Linked DNA regions of Homo sapiens: regions 1, 3 and 4 are each linked to region 2. Evidence: promoter capture Hi-C in 16 types of primary human blood cells and fetal thymus (Javierre and others, 2016). All regions are on one chromosome and are shown on one strand. The core of a region is centred on a gene start or on the middle of the fragment in contact, and the rest is flanking DNA. Distances in the headings are between cores, read along the strand shown. Region 1 holds the start of TSPYL1 (TSPY like 1). Region 2 holds the start of HSF2 (heat shock transcription factor 2). Region 3 has its middle 2.3 kb from the start of NT5DC1. Region 4 has its middle 7.0 kb from the start of RWDD1.

The links. Contacts are between HindIII fragments. The CHiCAGO score rates a contact against its expected background, and 5 or more counts as called.
Region 1: a contact is called between the fragment with the promoter of TSPYL1 here and the fragment with the promoter of HSF2 in region 2, in 1 of 17 cell types (activated CD4 T cells). The highest score is 10.8, in activated CD4 T cells.
Region 3: a fragment that was not itself captured here is called in contact with the fragment with the promoter of HSF2 in region 2 in 2 of 17 cell types (non-activated CD4 T cells and total CD4 T cells); the score reaches 6.0 in non-activated CD4 T cells.
Region 4: a contact is called between a fragment that was not itself captured here and the fragment with the promoter of HSF2 in region 2, in 1 of 17 cell types (naive CD8 T cells). The highest score is 6.5, in naive CD8 T cells.

What each region holds. Positions count from the first base shown.
Region 1 is chr6:116,278,666-116,281,365 of GRCh38, reverse strand. TSPYL1 (TSPY like 1) reads left to right here and starts at 1,436. Exons shown (of 1, transcript NM_003309.4): 1 at 1,436-2,700. The coding sequence starts at 1,536. It also overlaps a transcript of DSE not described here. RefSeq lists enhancers at 1,443-1,502, 1,733-2,002, 2,023-2,072. The HindIII fragment of the contact is 6,415 bases long and covers 107-2,700 here.
Region 2 is chr6:122,398,186-122,400,927 of GRCh38, reverse strand. HSF2 (heat shock transcription factor 2) reads right to left here and starts at 1,276. Exons shown (of 13, transcript NM_004506.4): 1 at 1,098-1,276. The coding sequence starts at 1,190. RefSeq lists silencers at 831-950, 1,221-1,540 and an enhancer at 481-980. The HindIII fragment of the contact is 3,471 bases long and covers 1-2,742 here.
Region 3 is chr6:116,097,194-116,099,893 of GRCh38, reverse strand. It overlaps a transcript of FRK not described here. Among named protein-coding and RNA genes, the nearest start is that of NT5DC1, 2.3 kb to the left of the region's middle. The HindIII fragment of the contact is 1,907 bases long and covers 425-2,331 here.
Region 4 is chr6:116,563,194-116,565,893 of GRCh38, reverse strand. No RefSeq gene overlaps it. Among named protein-coding and RNA genes, the nearest start is that of RWDD1, 7.0 kb to the left of the region's middle. The HindIII fragment of the contact is 5,903 bases long and covers 1-2,700 here.

The DNA of each region.
Region 1 (2,700 bases), core at 187-2,686, 6.1 Mb after region 2:
ACAAATTTATTTTCTTATAGTGCTGGAGTTTAGAGGTAATAACCTCAAGGTGTTGTCATTCCTTTGGAGGCTCTAGGATTGAATCTATTTCCTTACCTTTCAAGCTTCTAGAGGCTGCCTTTATTCCTACGATCCTGGCTCCTTCCTCCATCTTCAAAGCCAGCAACATAGCGATTTCCCTTTCCTCCCTCCCACACCTATTCTCCACCATTCCTTCCCTCTCTCTGTGCTTTCGTCCTCTTATCTTCTCTGACTGACCCTCCTGCCTCCTTCTTATAAGAAATTTGTAATTCCATAGGGCCCACCTGTATAATCCAGAATCATCTTCTCATCTCCAAATCTTTAACTTAATCATATCTGCGAAGTCCCTTTGGCCGCATAACTAAGACAGGTACATCTTTGAGGGCCATCAGGCTACTACCACACAAAGCAAATTAAGTAGAAAATAACGTTTGCCTCTTTTATACCTTGAGTCCACCAGCTGCATGTTGCCCTTTGCAAGTTTGTTTTCTACTTCAAGGCCATCTTAGTTGTCCATTTTAACTAGCCTTTCCTCACAAAATGGTGGTATGTGGCTCCCCCCACTGATATTTCTCTGAGGCCTTGTAGCTCTCTAAGACAGCACCAGTTTAACTCACAAGTCAACAAACTGGAACACTTCAACCAGAGACATTGACATCCCCCTCTAATGAACTCAGCTGATTGCTAAAGACAGATGCTTCGTTAGAGCCAAACATTCCTATCTTACATAACTAAATATGATAATAAATTAAGTTCTTGGGGCTGGAAATAGTTATAATTTCCTCTTTCTTGCAGTGAAAAGGCATGGAACATTTAGCAAACTGATCCTGGCTTAATTTCTACCGATACTATGCAGCACAAACTCTTATTTGATGCAGATTATAAATCGAAAATTAGCAATGAATACTATGCATCGCTTTAGTGGTAAGAGGCTGCTGAGTAGCTTTTTTTCCCCAGTAACCGTAGAGGCAAGAATTGATATTTTTATGTCACTTTTACTAAGAAGGGGGGAAACATTTTGCTATTAATCTTAAAGAGAAGTCTTTTGCTGCTAGTTACGTGGAGTAACAGGGAATAGATTTACCTTCCTGCCTCAAAAAAGTGAAGACCAGAAAAACATTTGTTTTCAGACACTGGAGAGCAGGCACTGTTACGGCTGTGATTTTACAACTGCTCCTACATGCTGGGAGCAGTCGCTAGATGCATCTCAAGGTGGGTCGTCCGCGCTTCCAGACTCAGCACAATCGACATTTATTTACGTAGGTAAAATTACTGTTGCTATGGGTAAATTCACAGAAATAAAGCCCAGAGAATCCGGTTGGCTGGCAGGGAGCGGCGGAACCAATCCCGGGCTCAGCAAGTTCTCGCGATACCGTGAGATCTCCAGTCCTGACGACACCGCCGCTGAAATGTTAGTGAGACTGTAGGGTGGGCGGTGCGAGCGGCGGTTAGCTCCCAGTTCGGCCTCTGAGGAAAACGGGCGTTCGCCTGCGGTTGGTCCGACTGTTAGCAACATGAGCGGCCTGGATGGGGTCAAGAGGACCACTCCCCTCCAAACCCACAGCATCATTATTTCTGACCAAGTCCCGAGCGACCAGGACGCACACCAGTACCTGAGGCTCCGCGACCAAAGCGAGGCGACACAGGTGATGGCGGAGCCGGGTGAGGGAGGCTCGGAGACCGTCGCGCTCCCGCCTCCACCGCCTTCAGAGGAGGGGGGCGTACCCCAGGATGCCGCGGGCCGTGGCGGTACTCCCCAGATCCGAGTTGTTGGGGGTCGCGGTCATGTGGCGATCAAAGCCGGGCAGGAAGAGGGCCAGCCTCCCGCCGAAGGCCTGGCAGCCGCTTCTGTGGTGATGGCAGCCGACCGCAGCCTGAAAAAGGGCGTTCAGGGTGGAGAGAAGGCCCTAGAAATCTGTGGCGCCCAGAGATCCGCGTCTGAGCTGACGGCGGGGGCGGAGGCTGAGGCGGAGGAGGTGAAGACAGGAAAGTGCGCCACCGTCTCAGCAGCCGTGGCTGAGAGGGAGAGCGCTGAGGTGGTGAAGGAAGGCCTGGCGGAGAAGGAGGTAATGGAGGAGCAGATGGAGGTAGAGGAGCAGCCGCCAGAAGGTGAAGAAATAGAAGTGGCGGAGGAGGATAGATTGGAGGAGGAGGCGAGGGAGGAAGAAGGGCCCTGGCCTTTGCATGAGGCTCTCCGCATGGACCCTCTGGAGGCCATCCAGCTGGAACTGGACACTGTGAATGCTCAGGCCGACAGGGCCTTCCAACAGCTGGAGCACAAGTTTGGGCGGATGCGTCGACACTACCTGGAGCGGAGGAACTACATCATTCAGAATATCCCGGGCTTCTGGATGACTGCTTTTCGAAACCACCCCCAGTTGTCCGCCATGATTAGGGGCCAAGATGCAGAGATGTTAAGGTACATAACCAATTTAGAGGTGAAGGAACTCAGACACCCTAGAACCGGTTGCAAGTTCAAGTTCTTCTTTAGAAGAAACCCCTACTTCAGAAACAAGCTGATTGTCAAGGAATATGAGGTAAGATCCTCCGGCCGAGTGGTGTCTCTTTCTACTCCAATTATATGGCGCAGGGGGCATGAACCCCAGTCCTTCATTCGCAGAAACCAAGACCTCATCTGCAGCTTCTTCACTTGGTTTTCAGACCACAGCCTTCCAGAGT
Region 2 (2,742 bases), core at 27-2,526:
GACGGGAGATAACATTTACTCAGCACTTAACAGGTGCCAGGCACTATGCAGGTAGTTTTCACTTATTCTTCTCAAGAACTACACATATGAAAATATGCCTCAATAGGTGATCATCTACAATAAGAGTTAACCACTTTCCTTCATAAAAATGATTCCAACAGCCTAGGAGTGTATTCTAATGCACATGCACTGTGGATGTAAATAATCATTCTGCCTAAAATCTTGTATTTGGGACTGATATAGGTCTTGGGTCACCTAGGCAACCCATCCATCTTATGAAAGATTTAACTTAGGCCAGACAAGATAAAGGGCTGGACTAAGGTCATGCTTGTTTAGAAGCAGAGTTGAGATCAAACCAATAATCAACACATCGATATGCCCCTCTGCTGGTAACTGTTCAGCGAAATTTAGTAACTACTAAGTTACCACCTATTAGTACTTTATTAAAACAATCCTAATAATCCCATTATACAAATAGCACAGAATCTCAAAAGAATAATTTGTTAATTTCTATATATTTTTAAAACCAACTGATAAGCAGTAACCTGCGTTTGAACGTATGTCTATTGCCCTGACTGCTCTCCACATAAAGATGCCAGATGCAAAGCAATGTTGGGGGAACTGGGGGTGATCGGTCGCTGAGGTAAAGATCGCCTCCTATAAAGCCCCACGTTGATGATCCTGGCCCTGGGCTCCCTGTCCCCTCCGCGATTTGTAACCCCTGAGCCGGGCGGGAGGACGGAGGATGAGTGTGCAGTAAAGAGGCTCCCGCGCCCTCGGCTCGCCGATTCCCCTCGCGACGCCGGGCCGGTTCCGAACGCGGACCGGACCGTTAAGGGGCTGCCTGGGCCGCTACGCCCCGCGCGGGCCGCCCCTCCCCCACCGCGGCCTGAGGAGAGCGGCGCTGCCGGCCGGGCCCCCGCGGCTCCCCGAGCGAACAATACAGGGGGTCCCCCGCGAGGCTGAACGCCAAGGCCCCGCACCGCGGGCCTCGCAGACAGCGTCGAGCCGCAAGGCCGCGAGAGACCACCCCGCAGGAGAGCGAGTGAGGAGGCGGTTATTCAGGGGGTTCAGAGGCCGCCGTGGCCTGACCGTACCTGGCTCCAGGTGATGAACTCGTTAGTGTGGGTTTCCTCCACAAGCGTCCACAGCTTGCTGAGGAAAGCCGGCACGTTCGAACTCTGCTTCATTGTTAACGCGGCGCAGGGATTCCAAATTCTACACCCGAACGCGGTGGTAGCGGCGGCGGCAGCTACGGCAGCAGCTCCCCGAGAACGCCCACAACGCAGGCGCAGCAGATCTTGGTCCCCGCCCCCCCAACCCCGCCAGGCGCGCGGCAAGGCCGAGAGGCCGGGCGGCCGCACGTGACGGACAAGTCTCCGCGCTCCGCCTGTGCGCGCAGTGGTTCCGCGCCTGTCCCGTCCCTGGCCAATCCCAGGAGCCGACTGCACGACAGAGAAAAGCGATTGGCTGCTGCTGACATGAAGGGGGTGGGAGCAGAAGGGGGTGGGAGCAGAAGGGGGCGCTGCCTCCTCATTTGCCTTTTATACAGAAGCCTTGATGGTAGCAGACTTAGGCTTGGGAGACCGTGTTTGGATGTTTCACGTGGAAACAGCTTATGGTTTCTGGGCTGTGGCTGGGAGGCTACAGAAACCCTTCAGGGCCTTTGAGTCATAAGTTTGGCAGGCAAAGTGTGGTTTGCACCAGTTTAGAGAAAGGATCCATTTGCATAAGGAAAAAACCAGCTCTCAAGCATGATGTGCTAGGCCCCAAATTGAAATTGTCTTAAAAATAATGAAACTTGTTCTTACATTTTCATTGGGAGAAAAAGCCCTCTTTAAAATATGTTTATCAAAAAGAGCAGTTTAAATAACTCACTCTCGATTACTTAAAACTGTAAACCAGGAACTGCAATTGATATATCATGTGCTGTTTTTAATCCAGTCATCAAGTGCCTACTCTGTACCCAGAATAAAAAGAAATAGACTCATTTGTACTATTTTAGTTAATTAAAATAGTTTTTCCTGCGTATACTTTACAGATATAGTCTTTTTTGCCTAAGAGATTGGTATAGTGGAAAAAACAATGGAAAAGGAGTCAGTAGATCTCAGTTTAGATAAAGCCTCTTGGACATTTTTCTGTATATTAAAATACACTGGTTCTGTCATTTAGAACAATTCCTTAGCCACCAGTGCCAGTTTTTTCCATTTCTTGACTGGGAATAAGATCTATCTTTTTACCCACTAAGAGTGTCTTTAATACTATAATGGCTGTGCAAATGCTTTGAAAATATGAAGTCTACAAAATTCGACTTTTTTTTTTTACAAAAGTCAGCATGTGAAGGCAAAAACTTACAAACAAGTCAGAGATAACATACAAAACTTCAACATAGGATTGGTTTACTTCTTGGGTGAATGTAAAATAGTACATTAAATATATATCTATCATTTAATGGAAGATATATGTATATCTCTTCCAATGAGCAAGTATTTAGTGAATGCTGCCTTTGTGCTCAGCACTGGGATGTTGGCTGAAGCAAAATCAGATATATGGAGGCATGCATGTGATAGAGGAAGTAATATTTGATGAGCCCTTATATATGCCAAGGGCTTTACATATATTATTGAATCCTCACAACAACCCAATGAACTAGGTTTTATTATCCCATTTTCCCAGAGAAGATTCTGAGACTCAAAAGTTGATTAATTTCTTCAGTCACAGCAAGTAAATGGGAGAGTATTT
Region 3 (2,700 bases), core at 129-2,628, 6.3 Mb after region 2:
TTAAAAAGAAAATACAAATCTATTATGTTTACACTGCTTCAGTTCTCAATTTAAAGGAACAATGTGTCTAATGGGACAAATCAATAGTCGTGACATAATGAAAATATAATTGATTGAGAACTGCATTTAACCCTTTCAAATACTAATCCTTCTGAGGCTAATAGACCAATCAGAGGATTAATTTAGTGCAATAGATAGTACAATTGAGTAGGAGGACACTTATACCTAGTAGACCCATTTGAATAAAATTGATAACTTGTTCCATTATAACACTTAAAAGCCCCAAACAAATCTCTCTGGAATAGGAAAAGTAAAGAATCTTCAAGAAGATTAAGCTGTTCACTGATGAGTCCAACAATCATGTTTTCAATGTCTGTGAACCAAAAGAGAAAAGGCTGGATTGTTGGAGAGGCTGGAAAAAGCTTGTTGGCCCTGGAGCATTGACCTTGGCATTCTCCTCTGCACCTTGCAATAGAATGCTACCAAAGTCAAACTTCCAGGTGCATGCCACATTGAAGGGCACATGTTTCCTTGGGGAATATCTTGTTTCATGTGGGAGTAGGTGCTTTAGGTACTTTAGGGACTTCCCTTAGTAATACAAATGTACTAGTACATTCATTGTAAGAGGGAAGAGTATAAAAGGATTGTTTTTTGTTGACTTAGCAAAAACTTCTCCTTACAAAACCTCTTGAGTGTGCTGAATTGTGAACAGGAAATTGACTTGGGGTAAGGGGAGAGAGGGAACCAGGGCACTCTTAAAGAGAAAAAGACCCCTGGGTCGATAACCAAGTGGTCCTGGGACTGGATCTGGCTATTACATGCACATCAACAATCTTATGTACTTGCTGATTAACAAATTATATATATTCTGCATGTTTGCACAAACAGTTCTTGTGCTAGAGAGTCCACATCATTTAAACTTTGTGGGAGAATTTTGCAAATGATCCAATCCTAGAGGCTTGTACTCTTTCTTGAGCCCCACTCACCTTTCCTTTGTACCTCAAACCTCAGTCTGACTCTTCCAGAAATATAGGGGATGGTTCCCTTCTCTTCTCCCATTCCCTACATAACCCTGAGTTTAAATACAAACACTCAGTTTAATTGTTTCATAAGGCTTATTTTTGGATAAAGATATTTCATTTTCCCTGCACATTAAACTTTTATCACACTTACTGATAAAATGCCACAGCTCTTGTATTATCAACTACAAGTTCAGTCTTCTACTTAGATACCAATTAATTTCTGTTTCTTTGAGTATCATGGACTGAATTTTGTCCCCCACTCATTCATGTGTTGAAGACCTAACCCACAATGTGTTTATATTTGACATAGGGCCTTTAAGGAAGTAATTAATGTTAAATAAGGCCATAAGGGTGGAGCCCTAATCCAACAGGATTAGCATTCTTGTAAGAAGAGGAAGGGGCACCAGAGTTTTCAAGCACACAAGAAAGGCCATGTGAGGAGCCACAAAACCACGGCTGTCTGCCTGGCGTCGTGGCACACACCTGTAATCCCAGCACTTTGGGAGGCCAAAGTAGGCAGATCGCTTGAGGTAAGGAGTTCAAGACCAGCTTGGGCAACATAGCGAGACCCATCTCTAGAAAAAATACAAAAATTAGCAGGGTATGGTGGCAGGCACCTATAGTCCTAGCTGTTGTAGGGGCTGGGGTGGGAGGATCGCTTGAACCTGGGAGGCAGAGGTTGCAGTGGGCTGGAATCAGGCCATCGCACTCCAGCCTGGGTGACAGAGAGAGACCCTGTCTTTTAAAAAAAAAAAAAAAAAAAAAAAAAAAGCTGTCTGTAAGCCAAGGAGAGTGGCTTCACCAGAAACCAACCCTGACAGCGCCTTGATCTTGGACTTTGAGCCTCCAGAACTGTGAGAAAATAATTTTTTGTTGTCTAAACCCCATTGTGTGGTATTCTGTTAAGGCACGCTGAGCCAACTAAGGCAGTTAATAAGGATAATTGACTCAAATCAGTGTTGTGTTAAATGTAGGAAATATTTGCCATTTGAAAGGTCTGTAAAGGACATGAACTTGGGTTTATGTTATTTGTTGACTTCTTGAAGTTGGGTACTTTTGCTTATGTGTAACATTAATACCATGCTGTGAAGTTTTAGAGTTTTTTTGTTTTTAGTATTTCATGTACTGTTTTTTCTTATACTTATGAGTTATGTAATAATTTAGAAATATTCAGAAACAGGAAGTTATATTACAGCCGATTTTCTAGAATTAAATTTCATTATTACAATTGATCTGCTTTTAATTGAGGTGGTACTATAATTTAGCAATTTTAACCTTAGGTGTGACTTGTGATTAGCTAGCTTAAGCTTTAGACTCTATAATATCTCAATAACTGATCTTTTGTGAATTTATAATACTTTATTTTAACATCTATATTGTAAATATGATTTGCCATACATTTTTGGGAAGGAGGGAAATGGCCTGTTTCTTTTTTCATTAGTTTAAAATATGCTTTTCTAAATATTCCTAATTAAACATTGTATGTTCAACTTTTTGTATAACCTAAGCCAATCTACATATCTTCTGTGGCACATATAATTCTTTAAGGGGTAAGAAAAAAGTTCATTTACTAAATTGGAAAAAAATAGGAAAAATATGAATTTCTAAAAATAAAACTCTATGGCACTTAAATATTAGACATTTAGCTACATAGAACCAAATACTTATTTGTAATATT
Region 4 (2,700 bases), core at 192-2,691, 5.8 Mb after region 2:
GTAGCTGCACACTTTGGGTGTCCTCTTCGCTGGGCGCAGTTCGGTCACCCAATAAAGCTCTTCTCTGCCTTGCTTACCTTCCAGTTTTCTGCATAACCTCATTCTTTCTGGACGAAGGACAAGAACTCAGGACCTGCCGAACAGCGGGAGCAAAAGGAGCTGTAACACTTTTCTGGCCGGTTTGCTGAACTGCAGGCGGGAGCTAAAGGGGCTGTGACATGTTCCTGGCCTGCTTGCTGAGCTGTGGGCGGTGATATGCTCCCAGACTGCAGGAAGGAAGAGTGGCAACCCTTCTGGGGACCTAGATCTTGGGAGTCCCCAAGCCAGAGCTTTAACACTATAGTCCTCCCACCCTCTGCTAGTGCAGGGCGGCTGCCCCATATGACCGAAAGCAGCCGCAGGGCCAGGCCAGAGCGGGGTGTTGAGACTGAAAGACCTATACCACCAAGGGGCTGAAATACACTCCCTCAAACATGGCCCCCATCCCCGCTGCCCACACTGCAGATGACAAGAGGGAGAGAAGAGCTGTGGCCATTCTGGAAGCACAGACCTCGGGGCTCCCTGAGCCAGGGCTGTGACACATTGTAACACCCTCTTTGGAGCTCTGTGGTTCCTGGAATCTCTGAGTTTTTGGGTGCCACCGCGTTCCCCTCGTCCAGACACTCGTGTCTACAGTGGAAGCTGCTTGCGGTATGCCTGGTCCCGCCGCAGTCTCGCTCGGTGACGGTGCCAGGAGCTACCCGCCCCGCTGCGGCAGCTACCCACCCCGCTGCAGCAGCCGGCATGCTTGCTGTGTACAGTGGCCGGACCCCGTACTTGCTCGCTCACACACGCCTTGCCGCTCCGCGCCTGGTTCACTCTCCGCAGGCATAGGATCTGGGCCGGTAGCACAAGCGAGCACGGCCTGCTGGGCCAAGTGGGCTGAACGAGTCCAGCAGGAACAAGCAAAACTCAAGTAGAGGTACCACTGGCCACAGAGGTTTCCAGCTGGTAAAGCAGCACCTGAAGGAGCCTGTGACAATACATATACATTTCTTTTTGTTTAATCAGTTTGTCTGAAGATTCTCTATAGTGTCCAGGCACCATCTCTTTCTATTCAGGAAGAAGAGCCATCTCTTCATGTTCTTTATTGTCAAATGCACTACTGTCTAATTTCATATCTCTCACCATGATTTAGAAGAACAAAAAAAAAAAAAAAAAAAAAGCAGTGCTTCTACACACAATCCCGTGGCTCACTGTCATTTCTAGCAAAACAAAATCGTTCTTCTTGCCTCTGCAGTATCCCAATACCTTTTTTTGTAATGCTGGTCACATCATTACTCGTTAAGCTGCGTCATTCATCCTGCTGCTCCTGAATACTGGCTTCCAAAGTCTTTCTCAAAGAATGTTCTTTATTGATGACCACAAATGGAAATTTTACCCAAAGTATGCAGGAAAATGGGAATGGTTATTTTCCAGTCAGTTAAATTTACTACACATCTTCCAACTATGTCTTTTCTTGAATGCCTTAGGCCATAATCACTGCATTCCTAAAACGATGTCTCTTTTAATGTCGCTGCACCGCACCTTCTACACTTGGCCACCAAGTGGGAAGAAGGGAGAAGGTCCTAAGGGTGGTGCCAGATAAGCAGTTCCATTCCAGTGCAGGGAATGTCCTTGACCAGCCCAAGAGAGCACAGATTCACAACACTGATCTGAAGCCAGAAAGGGACAGCAATCTGTAAGGCCCCTCAAAAGCCATCAGAGAACTGGTAGTAGACACACCACCCCAGAGGACAGCCTGATCCGCGGCACACAGTGGAGACCACCCTGGGCCCAGTGCAGCGGCACACCAAGGAAAGGACCTGCTGCTGCCACCACCTCGCCGGCTCCAGGGCTGCAGGTGGGAGCTGGCACTTCCAGCTAGAACACCCCGGCATGCCATGCTGTGGGAAGAGGGTCGAAGAGTGTAGGGATGTGGGGAAGGGAAGAAACGGGTCCCCGCAGTCTGGTCTGGCTCAGGGCACCCCATGCCAATGAGCCCCAGACAATTTCCTAGAAGGAGCTCAAAACATCAGGCTCCCTGATGGCGCGCAGTACTGAATCGCATATTAAATTATTATTCTAGCTCTGCCAGTAATAACTTGGATGAATTTTGCTTTTTGCATTATCTTCCCCATGAAATATAAACCTGTCTCACAGGACAGCATAGGATCTATTAAATCATCATTGGACTAAAGATGCTTATTTTGTAGGCAGCTTTTCCAAATTCAAGTTATTTCAACATGAAAGAATGACGGCAGGCATAAACTTATCAATAATAGGTCACCTATTATCGACTTATGAAATTTGTGCAATCAATAAAACACCATGTAGATCCAGAGATTGATTGATTGTGCTTTCACATTTGCTTTCTCACATTTGAAATGCTAGCATATGTCTACATTATGAAATAATTTATAGTAAATAGTTCTGTTGATGCCACTAACTGACAACTACAGAAGAAAAATATATTTAAATGTTTATTTGCAGCTTAAGGTAAAACATCCACAAATGCCTATGAAGTTTATATTCAGCTCTTTCTGCACTTTAGCACACTGTAAAATATTAGAGCACATTGTATTTTATTCATAAAATATTATATTATAGATATATTTGTTTTCCAGGAGCAACAGTTTTGCCCAAGGCAGAGTGTCAGCACATATAGAATCAGGATGCTTG